Linked DNA regions of Homo sapiens: region 1 is linked to region 2. Evidence: promoter capture Hi-C in 16 types of primary human blood cells and fetal thymus (Javierre and others, 2016). All regions are on one chromosome and are shown on one strand. The core of a region is centred on a gene start or on the middle of the fragment in contact, and the rest is flanking DNA. Distances in the headings are between cores, read along the strand shown. Region 1 overlaps LOC105377848 (a long non-coding RNA gene). Region 2 holds the start of SMAP1 (small ArfGAP 1).

What was found. The method cuts DNA at HindIII sites, captures the fragments that hold promoters and counts their contacts. A CHiCAGO score of 5 or more calls a contact.
Region 1: a fragment that was not itself captured here is called in contact with the fragment with the promoter of SMAP1 in region 2 in 1 of 17 cell types (total CD8 T cells); the score reaches 5.4 in total CD8 T cells.

The regions. Positions count from the first base shown.
Region 1 is chr6:70,362,992-70,367,523 of GRCh38, reverse strand. The region is part of intron 1 of LOC105377848 (a long non-coding RNA gene); the gene reads left to right. Among named protein-coding and RNA genes, the nearest start is that of LINC01610, 29 kb to the left of the region's middle. The HindIII fragment of the contact is 3,427 bases long and covers 689-4,115 here.
Region 2 is chr6:70,666,143-70,670,701 of GRCh38, reverse strand. SMAP1 (small ArfGAP 1) reads right to left here and starts at 2,819. Exons shown (of 11, transcript NM_001044305.3): 1 at 2,561-2,819. The coding sequence starts at 2,678. RefSeq lists silencers at 2,078-2,137, 2,258-2,487, 2,638-3,037. The HindIII fragment of the contact is 2,958 bases long and covers 2,612-4,559 here.

The DNA of each region.
Region 1 (4,532 bases), core at 1,153-3,652, 300 kb after region 2:
CCCTTCTGTCCATCTGACAAAATCCTACTCCTCTTTGAAGGGTCACCTTATATGTGACCAGCATATTGTAAAGCCTTCCAGGACTCTCTCAGCAGACTTTAGTGTCTCATGTCCCTCTGCTGTTTCTTGGAGTCCTGGCAGCTCTCTCCCACTGAACTGACACCATTGGAGACTGTGTAGAAATGAATCTGGGTCTATGTATGGGCACTCCAGAGAATTCCTACAGGCCCCATCTCTTCTTTATCCTCTTGAATCCATTTGCTCTTTCTAGTTTGGCTGAGCTTTGGATTCTGTTTCTGCTTGATTTTTCACTTCTCTGCTCTTCACTCTCCTTTGGACTTGATGTGTTAGAGGATCTCTGTGGATGTTACTTTTGTTACATTTTGTTCCTGAGCTCTCAGGACCCTTTCTCTCATCCCAGTCTGATACCTTTCTCCAATTTCTGAAATATCAAGCACAGCCATAGACCTAGTTTCCCACCTGCTTGACAGGGGAGTTGTTATAAGAGTTTGGAAATACCTTAGGGAGGAGGCTATTCTTTCATCTATGTGTCCTGAGTGCCTATAATCATGTCTGGAACATAGAAGTGTTCAATGAATGTTTGTTGAATGAATAAATAAATGTATAGGATGAGGAGAACTTACCCACCTAAGGACCTGACTTAGGGGACGAGAGTGAAATGCAAGCTTGATCTCACCTCTTGAATACTGGTCATTGAGCTTAACTTTTGCCCTAAAGATGGATGATTGTCAGCCTTTTGTAGGACCTCAAGAAGGATTTGAAGAAACTAGATATTTTTACCAGCAAAATAATTCACAGCACACAAATGATTGCACAGAATTTCAGTGCTTTCAGAAGTCCTCTGGAAACCTTTTTGTGAACGCCAGGTAAATATCCCCTGTTATACACATTGAGGAGGCATTACAAGTTTTTAAATCTGGGAATGACATGATGAAGATAATGCTTTAAGGAGGTGTTTAGTTTAGACAGGGGCTGGGAACTCTAAAGAGCTAGGAATTCTGGGTGTAAGGTGATGTGGGGCTTGAATAGAGTGTGAGACAGTGTGAGTGAAAGAAGTGGGCAGATATGAGATATTCGAAAGGAAGGAGAGAGGGGCTTGATTATTAACTGTATGAAAACCAATAGATAATTATTCTGTACTCTTGAAATAAGATCCCTGAAGATGCTAAAGTCTGATCTGTTGATAAGATAACTGACACAAAACCCACCACCTGTTTTTAAAGAGTGATATTGTCACATATAAAATAAATTAATATTTCCAAATCTGTTGAGGGATTTATTGGGAACAGTCAGTTTGCATGGCTACATGTCCACTGACTTGGTCACTGTGGGTTTGGGAATTTAGTGGGAGGGAGCAGAAGTAGAAGGAAAGTGTATCTTACAACTTAACAAAAATTTTAAACTGGTAACTTTCCCTTCCTCCCTCTATCCCTCCTTTTCTTATTTTCTTCCCATCTCTTTAATATAAGGCAGAATATATTTTTCTGTAAATTGTTTTTAAAACCTTTTTTTTCAAATGCTATGTATCTTTTTCTTCTATTTGATGCTCAATTCAAACAAAATCTCTTTCTGTAAAACCTATGCATAATGCTGTTGGACTTCTGTTGAGTTCAGGTTGGTAAGCTCTCTCATACCTCAGTAATTCCAAATCTGAATTTATGATATTGCTAGTGTGCATGGAGCATGAATAACTCTGTCTAGTACTGCATTAAAAACATGTAAGATTTAGAAGATATCAGGCTTAGCATAAATTAAGAATAGGTATTACATGTGGCCTGTAGGGATAAAGCCGAATAAATTTAAGTGTGTGAGAGAAGATTAATATAAGCTCAGTCACTTGGAAATTGCTTTGATTACACTTCTGTCAGAAGGTGGCTAAAAATGGTCCCTTTTGCGGCTTATTACATTTTCTGCAACTTTCAATCATTTCCCCCTTCTGTTTTTTGGTTTCTTCTCCCATTTCACTTTCCTTTGCTCTTGTCTCTGAGCAAAGACACCTTCTAAGATGTATCTCTTCATTTGAGTCCTTAATCTCAACCTTTCACTTCTCTTCATGAGAACAGATCTGTCTATTAGCTCCCCTGTTTCTTGCATTGCCTGTTTCTTTCTTTACTGGTTCCTTCTCAACTATTTATAAGCAAGCTCACACAACTTGTTATTCTCTCATACAATCATTCTCTCTTCTTCCTTTCTCTGTTTAGATATCTCCAGTGTAGCCCATTCTTTGCCTCCTGTGCCTCACTTCCAGATCTATTTTTGTCTTAATCACAATAGGCTAGATTATGTCATAATAACAAAAAACTGCTGAGCTCTCAATGGCTTAATGAAACAGAGACATATCTCCCTTTACATTGCAGTCTGTTGCAGGCTGGCCTGGTAGCTCTCCTACACCACTTCCCTTCCAGCGGCAACCCAGGGGCCAGGCTGCATCCAGCTTAACACTGCCATGTTGGAGTTGAGTGCTTTGTGTTTAATCAGCTAGCCTTAGGAGAGAGTCAACATGCAGAAGTCACACTTGATTTTAACTGCTATACCAGAAGGGACACCTCATCTCCCCTACATTCCATTGGTGAGAACATGGAAATTTGATGAACACTACTGGTTTTGGTCTCAGCCACTATTTCCATTTGTTCAATATCATATTTCTGCTCCTATGGATACAACGATAGAGGCAGGAGGCAGAGAAATTCTAGGCAGAAAGGGCGGGTCCCTGGCAAATGCCCCACCCTCCAGCTGAAAAGCCTGAAACCGCAGCCAGAAGTGAGAACTTACATCCCTGTTTTCCCACTTGAATGTTGCCTTTTCCAAAACCACTCATTGCCTGCCCTGCCCTCCATCCTGGGCTTATAAAAAACCTCATACCCAGCTGACAGAGAGAGGAGAAGCAGCTGGACATCAGAGACTATAGCTGGATGTCGGGGAGAAGCGGCTTGATTCCAGAGGGACAGCTTGACCGTGTAACTTGGGAGAAGAATCTGGTTGGAGACTCCTGGACTTCAGGAGAAGATTACCTTCCAGCTCTGTCCCCTTTTCAGCTCCCCTTCCCACTGACAGCCATGCCCATCGGCAATAAAATTTCCCACATTTACAATCCTTCAATTTGTTCATGTGACCTCATTCCTCCTGGACGCCACAGAAGAACTCAGGAACCACGAGTGCAGATACAAAAGGCTGTCACACTGACCCTTTGCCCTCTCTGGCAAAAGGCAGCTGCCTCACACCAAAAGGTAGAGGGTCCACTGAGCTGTTAACACTTAAGCTGTCTGTGGACAGCAGCACTAAAAGAGCACTGTAACACTCCCTCTGGGACTTCAGGGGTCACAGGTACCCTCCCAGATGTTGCTGTTGGGGCCTGCACAGACTTTGCTCCTGCTCACACCCAAAAGTGCTTGCCCTGGCTCCTGCACCTGCTCACCTGCATGCGCCTTCCCACGAGGGGTGGAGCGCAGTGGCTCCAAGTGAGTGGAATTTGCCACTGCCAGCACTGAAGTGGCTGGCTAGTTCCAGTGCCCGGGCACACAATTTCCCACCTTATTCGCTTGCGTGCTCCCTCCTGCGAGGAGTTGAGAACTGCAGGCTGAGGAAACAAGGCACCCCCTTTGTGAGTCCCATGAAGGGGCCAGGGAAATATCCTGCTTCACTACCTCTTTGAAAGAGTGAAATAACACACAGTGGCCTGGGTACCTCCACATCCTTCACGATGCAGCTGACTAGAGGTCTGGAAAGCAAGGATATGAATATAAATTGAATACTGTATAAGATCTAAAATATTAAACCGACCTAGACTTAACTGGATTTTTTTAATATTCGAAGTCACCAGAAAGCTATGGGATCTACCCAAGATGTTGTAAGGGGTCAGGAAAGGGAGATTTGACAAAGTAAGTCCGAAAGCAGTGAAAGGGAAGAAAATAAAACCATTTTATGTTTGTACTTTATTGGGTTCAAGACAATCCAATATGAAACCTGCATTTAGTTTACAGAATAATGAAAAATATAATTAGATATAAATAAAAGCATATATTTTTCATTGTTAGATTTAAGCTGTATGAGGAAACAAAAATTAATAAAGTTATTCTTTTGTCTGTGAATAAGCTTAAACAATGCCTTTATTCAGTTTAGATAACACAAAAGGGAACTTAATCACATTTTAAATCACATTCAAAGATAGAGCTTCTAAAAATAATTGAAGTTTGGTGAATGTCTTTCTGCTAAGAGTGCTGTGAAACTCTCATAATTAGATTAATGTGGTTAATCCCCCTGGAGTATTACAGTGAGTGTGAATCAGCCCTAATAATAAAATACATTACATCTAAACAAACTAAATGCCTTTTAATGTACTCTCAATGACCTCCTGAGTGAAGTTTTCAAATTTTTATAAATTTTCATTCACGCTTTTAACTTCTAGGGGCTTGAGCATGAATTATGATTCAAAGACAGAGTTTGATTAATAATGTACGGCTGTGGACAATTAAAAAGAACTCTTCCTTTACGGAAAAAAACACTTCAGGTAT
Region 2 (4,559 bases), core at 1,570-4,069:
ATAACTTTGAAATACAGTACATGAAAAGTTTGATGCAATTTACTAGACAGTGAAGAAAACATCAATACATACACAGAATGAAACTTCTTAGTAACTGAGCTGTAGAGTAAGACCTTTAACATATCTTTTAAAAGTACTATATTTATTATGTCATCCTAGCATATAGATCCAAAATCATGTAACAAGCCAAGAATTCTACTAAAAAAGCCTCCATAATGTACTTCAACCTTACCAAATACTCAAAAACTGTGAAAATATATTTACATCAATTGCTCTATCATGTCGAATTTTTCAATTATTACAACCATGAAATCAAGTCTAATTAAATCAATAAGTGGCCTTACCTGTGATTTTTTGCCTGAAAGATCAAGATAAAACAATGAAATTATTTACAAGATCATTTTAATATTCTTCTAGATTTAGTAGCAACAAGAAAAAAATAATCCTTGTAAATTATACTGTGGAGTTCATGCCCTTCAAGCTGCACCCTTGTACTCTTGATACCATTCTCTTCTCTCCCACTTCCTTCACTTCTCAAAACAAGTAAACCAACAAAAGGCCAGACAAAACCAAAATACAAAAGACATTCATTCAATATATATCTACTGATTTCCGTGGCAATACAAACACTGAGCAAAACGAATACTTCCTATTCTTCAGGTCCAAAGAAGTAAAACTTTTGATCCTAATTTAAGAAGTACATGATTCTCTTCTCCCCACCTCAAAAGAGTAAATAAAAAAAAAAAAAGTTAACATGGTTAATAATGGCTTTTAAAAATCTGTATTATTTTAGAAAGCATTAGTGAAAATCTGATTTTATAAAGTACTTTTTTGGAGACAGAAATTTGAACAAAAATTAAATTATTTTTAATAAAGTCTGTAGATGAAGGAAGGTTAATTCTGAAACTGTTACTATTCGACTTTTAATGAACAGATTTAATATTTACCAGCATCTCTACTTAACCATGTTATTACTCAAAATGACAAAATGTGTACTATTTAGCTTCAGCTTCTTTCTTCTTCTTGGCCTTTTAAAGGACCATTTTTCAGTGTTTTGCTAGTGCAGTCAATGAGCAAGCAACTGAGCCTAAACACAGTGCAGAACTCCCAAATAACCACACACAATCAAGTTACTAGGAAAACAAGTATTACAAGAACCAGGCACGGACTTTGTAAAAACTCATCACCTGAAAAGGTTACATAGGATAAATATAATCTTGACTCAATCAAGTTACTATATTGAAAAGTGCTTCATAAAAATAATCTAGTTACAGTATTCCCGCATGATTCTTCTAGTAATTCAGTACCTGTTACGACAGTGAAGTAACCTGCTGATGCTGTGTGGCTCAGTCTAGTCAAATATTATCAGCCTACTGAAATGTGACTCATTTATATAGTATTGAGATAGAACAGTAAAGCTTCAGGAAAAGTCTAAGTCAAATAACACAGAAATCTTAAAGGACATTCCCCAAAGAGACTGTCTCCTGCTTTAGAGAACTACCCTATTTCTCACCCAATAACGAAATAAACCAATTAAAAATATACACGATCTTTTCTTAACTACACAAGACATTTCTTTAAAAAAAAAAGAAATATTTCCCTTGAGATTACTTACAAGACATTAAACATAAATCAGATCTCCAAACACAAAACATAGCAGCTAAAAATAGTATATCTGTTTCAAAGGCTGAGGCAGAAGCCCTCCAACCGAAAAAACTAAAATTAGGTTTTTTCCATCTCTAGATCTTTAAAATGAACCTTCAGCATTTATGAGGTACACAAATCAGTGTCCACATATTCTCCCAAACTAGCTGGTCAGAGAAAACCTAATTACTAAAATCTTCAGAAATACAAACCCACCGTCCTCCAAGAGACTCATGTAATGAAATTCCTCTTCATTCTGGCTAATAACCAGACTAAAAAACAATACTACTACTAATAAAGACCTTTCTCCAATTAATTTATTCCGTAAAACTCAAACCCACCGAAAAAGACCACCATACTCTTTTTCAGGAAGCAGAGATAAAAGCCTTGTACAAAAGCTGTCAGGTGGGCAGGCAGGTAGGGCTCCATCTAGGAGACCAAGAATCCGAGCCCGGAGTGGGAGGACGTGGTCACACCGGAGGGTAGAGGAGGGGATCCAGACCTAAGCGCGGCCCCACCCACAGAGATAGCTATGAGCAGAGCTAGGAGGGCAACTCTCTAACCCTAAGCTCTGCCCAGACCCGTGCCCGGTTCCGCGCTCCCAGCCTCGCTCCTACCCCCAGCCCTGTGGAGGGTCCGAGCATCGCTACCCTGGCACCTGCTCAAACCCGTGTCTGGGAGGAGGGGAGGCTGGGGCCACTGACAGGGCCTGCGGGCCTGACCTCGCCGCCGCCTCTGGCGGACTTGAGGGTCGACAGGAGCCCCGCGCCCGCCCGCTCAGCCACCCGCCCTCCAGTCAGGGCAGGAGCCGGCCAGCGAAGCCGAGGCGTCCGCTCGGGCCCCGAGCGCCGCAGCGGCGGGAAGGTCACCGGTCGCAAGAGGCCCCGACCGTGGGCAGCGACGACGTCCAAGCTACCTTTGGCCTCGCAGTCGGCGCAGTACTTGTTGTCCTCCTCCCTCAGAAGCTTGGATAGGATGAGCTGGTGCTGCTCGTTCAGCTTCTGAGCCTTCTCCCGACAGGAGCGCGTCGCCATCTCGGCAGCGGGGCGGGGAGCCTGGGGCAGCTACGGCGGCGGCGGACGCTGGCTGGAGCCGGGCAGAGTGAACGCACCTGGCGCCGCCGGGACCGCGGGCGGACTCAGCCCAGGAAGCGGCAGCGGCAGCTGGAACGGGAGGAGGGGCGGCGGCGGCGGTGGCGGTGGTAGCGCCGACGTGTCCCGCCTCCTTGACCGGCCTGCCGGCACGCACCACCCTAGCCGGCGAGGGGAGGGGGAGGGGGACTGGGTCGCGCCGAGGCTTCCGGGTGGCGCGGAGGAAGGAACCCGGGCGCCGAGCGCGCTGCGCATGCGCCGAACCTACGGGGCCCGGGCTGCCGAGTCTTTTTGCAAAAAGGCCTTCTGCCCAAGGTGATTCCCGAAAGGTAGCTGGCACTGCCTCATACGAGCTTTCCCCCCTTTTGAGATGTGATGGTCCGCAAGGGCCTCTAGTAAAACCCAGTAATGGAAGACCTTTTACAAGAAGCCTACTTTGACTTGCCCATTTGCCTTTGCTCTTGCTGGCACAACATTGGAAATGCAGAAATAACTAGCGACTGGGTGGGTTCATTTACTCATTCGAGGTTTATTCGCCTGCAGTTTAGAAGCTGGAGACACGGATGGAAGAAAAGAGGAAAAACGGTCTCTTACATTTTAAGGGCGAGAAATAATCTAGTAGTGACATGTATTAGGGGATAACATTTCATTGAGTGATTACTCTGTTAAACGAACTGTTAGCTCATTTAACCCTTTCCCCAACCTTATGATATTGTTATCCTCATTACACAGGGGAGGAAAGTGAGGCATAGAGGAGTTAAGTAACCTGACCAGATTACAGAACTACTAGTGGAGGAGTTGAGATTTAAATCCAAAGCAGTCTGGCTCCAGAGTCTGAAAGACCTGGCAGTAAGCCCTTCCATAAGGGGGAAAGTGTGACCAGGAACCCAAGTACTAGGCGGTGATACTTTAACAAGAAGCTGTGTAAATAGTGATCCTTAATGCAAGAGAAAGAGAACTAAAGAAAACACTTTTCATTGGAACCCAGACCCTAATCCAGGCTCATGAAGTTTGAACTCCGGGTGACGCAGTTTCGATGATTTGGCATGTTGTATATTATGAGGAAGTTCTAATATGGGGCTTATGCAAGCCAAATAAACACAGTCCTTGCCTGCGATGAAGCAGATGCTAAGAAAGGCAATGAGCAAGAGTCGGTCTTACACTTCTTAGTAAGGCCAATTTCTAGCCCCTGTCCCTGCATAAAAGTGACCCTCATTGCTACCTAGCCCTGTTCTTGGCACAGGGGCTCAAAAATGTTTCTGGAATTAAATTGAATGGATATGGCAATGAAGATGCTCAGTAATTAAACAAATTAGAGCTTATACTACATAGCTCTGACAAATAACTACTAGGGAGATATTGGTGAGTTCCAATGAACAGAAAAAAACATTATGTGGGAGGTAGAACTTACGAGCCTTGTCCTGAAGATACGCTGGATTTAGATGGGGACTGGGGAGGGAGATATTAAGAAAGAGCAGCTTGCACAAAAGCATGAAGACCTGAAGTACCTTGGAAAACAGACTGGAACAAAAGGTACTACTTTTGAGATAAGGCTGCATAAGTAAACTATGATAGGGTTATGGAAGACTTGGGAAGCCAGACAAAGTAGTCTGGCCTTGATGCAAATTGACAGTAGAAAACCTGTAGATTTTTGCCAGGCACAGTGGCTCACGCCTGTAATCCCAGCACTTTGGGAGGCCGAGGCAGGCGGATCACCTGAGGTGGGGAGTTCGAGACCATCCTGACCAACATGGAGAAACCCTGTCTCTACTGATAATACAAAATTAGCCGGGTGTAGTGGCGCATGCCTGTTTAATCCCAGCT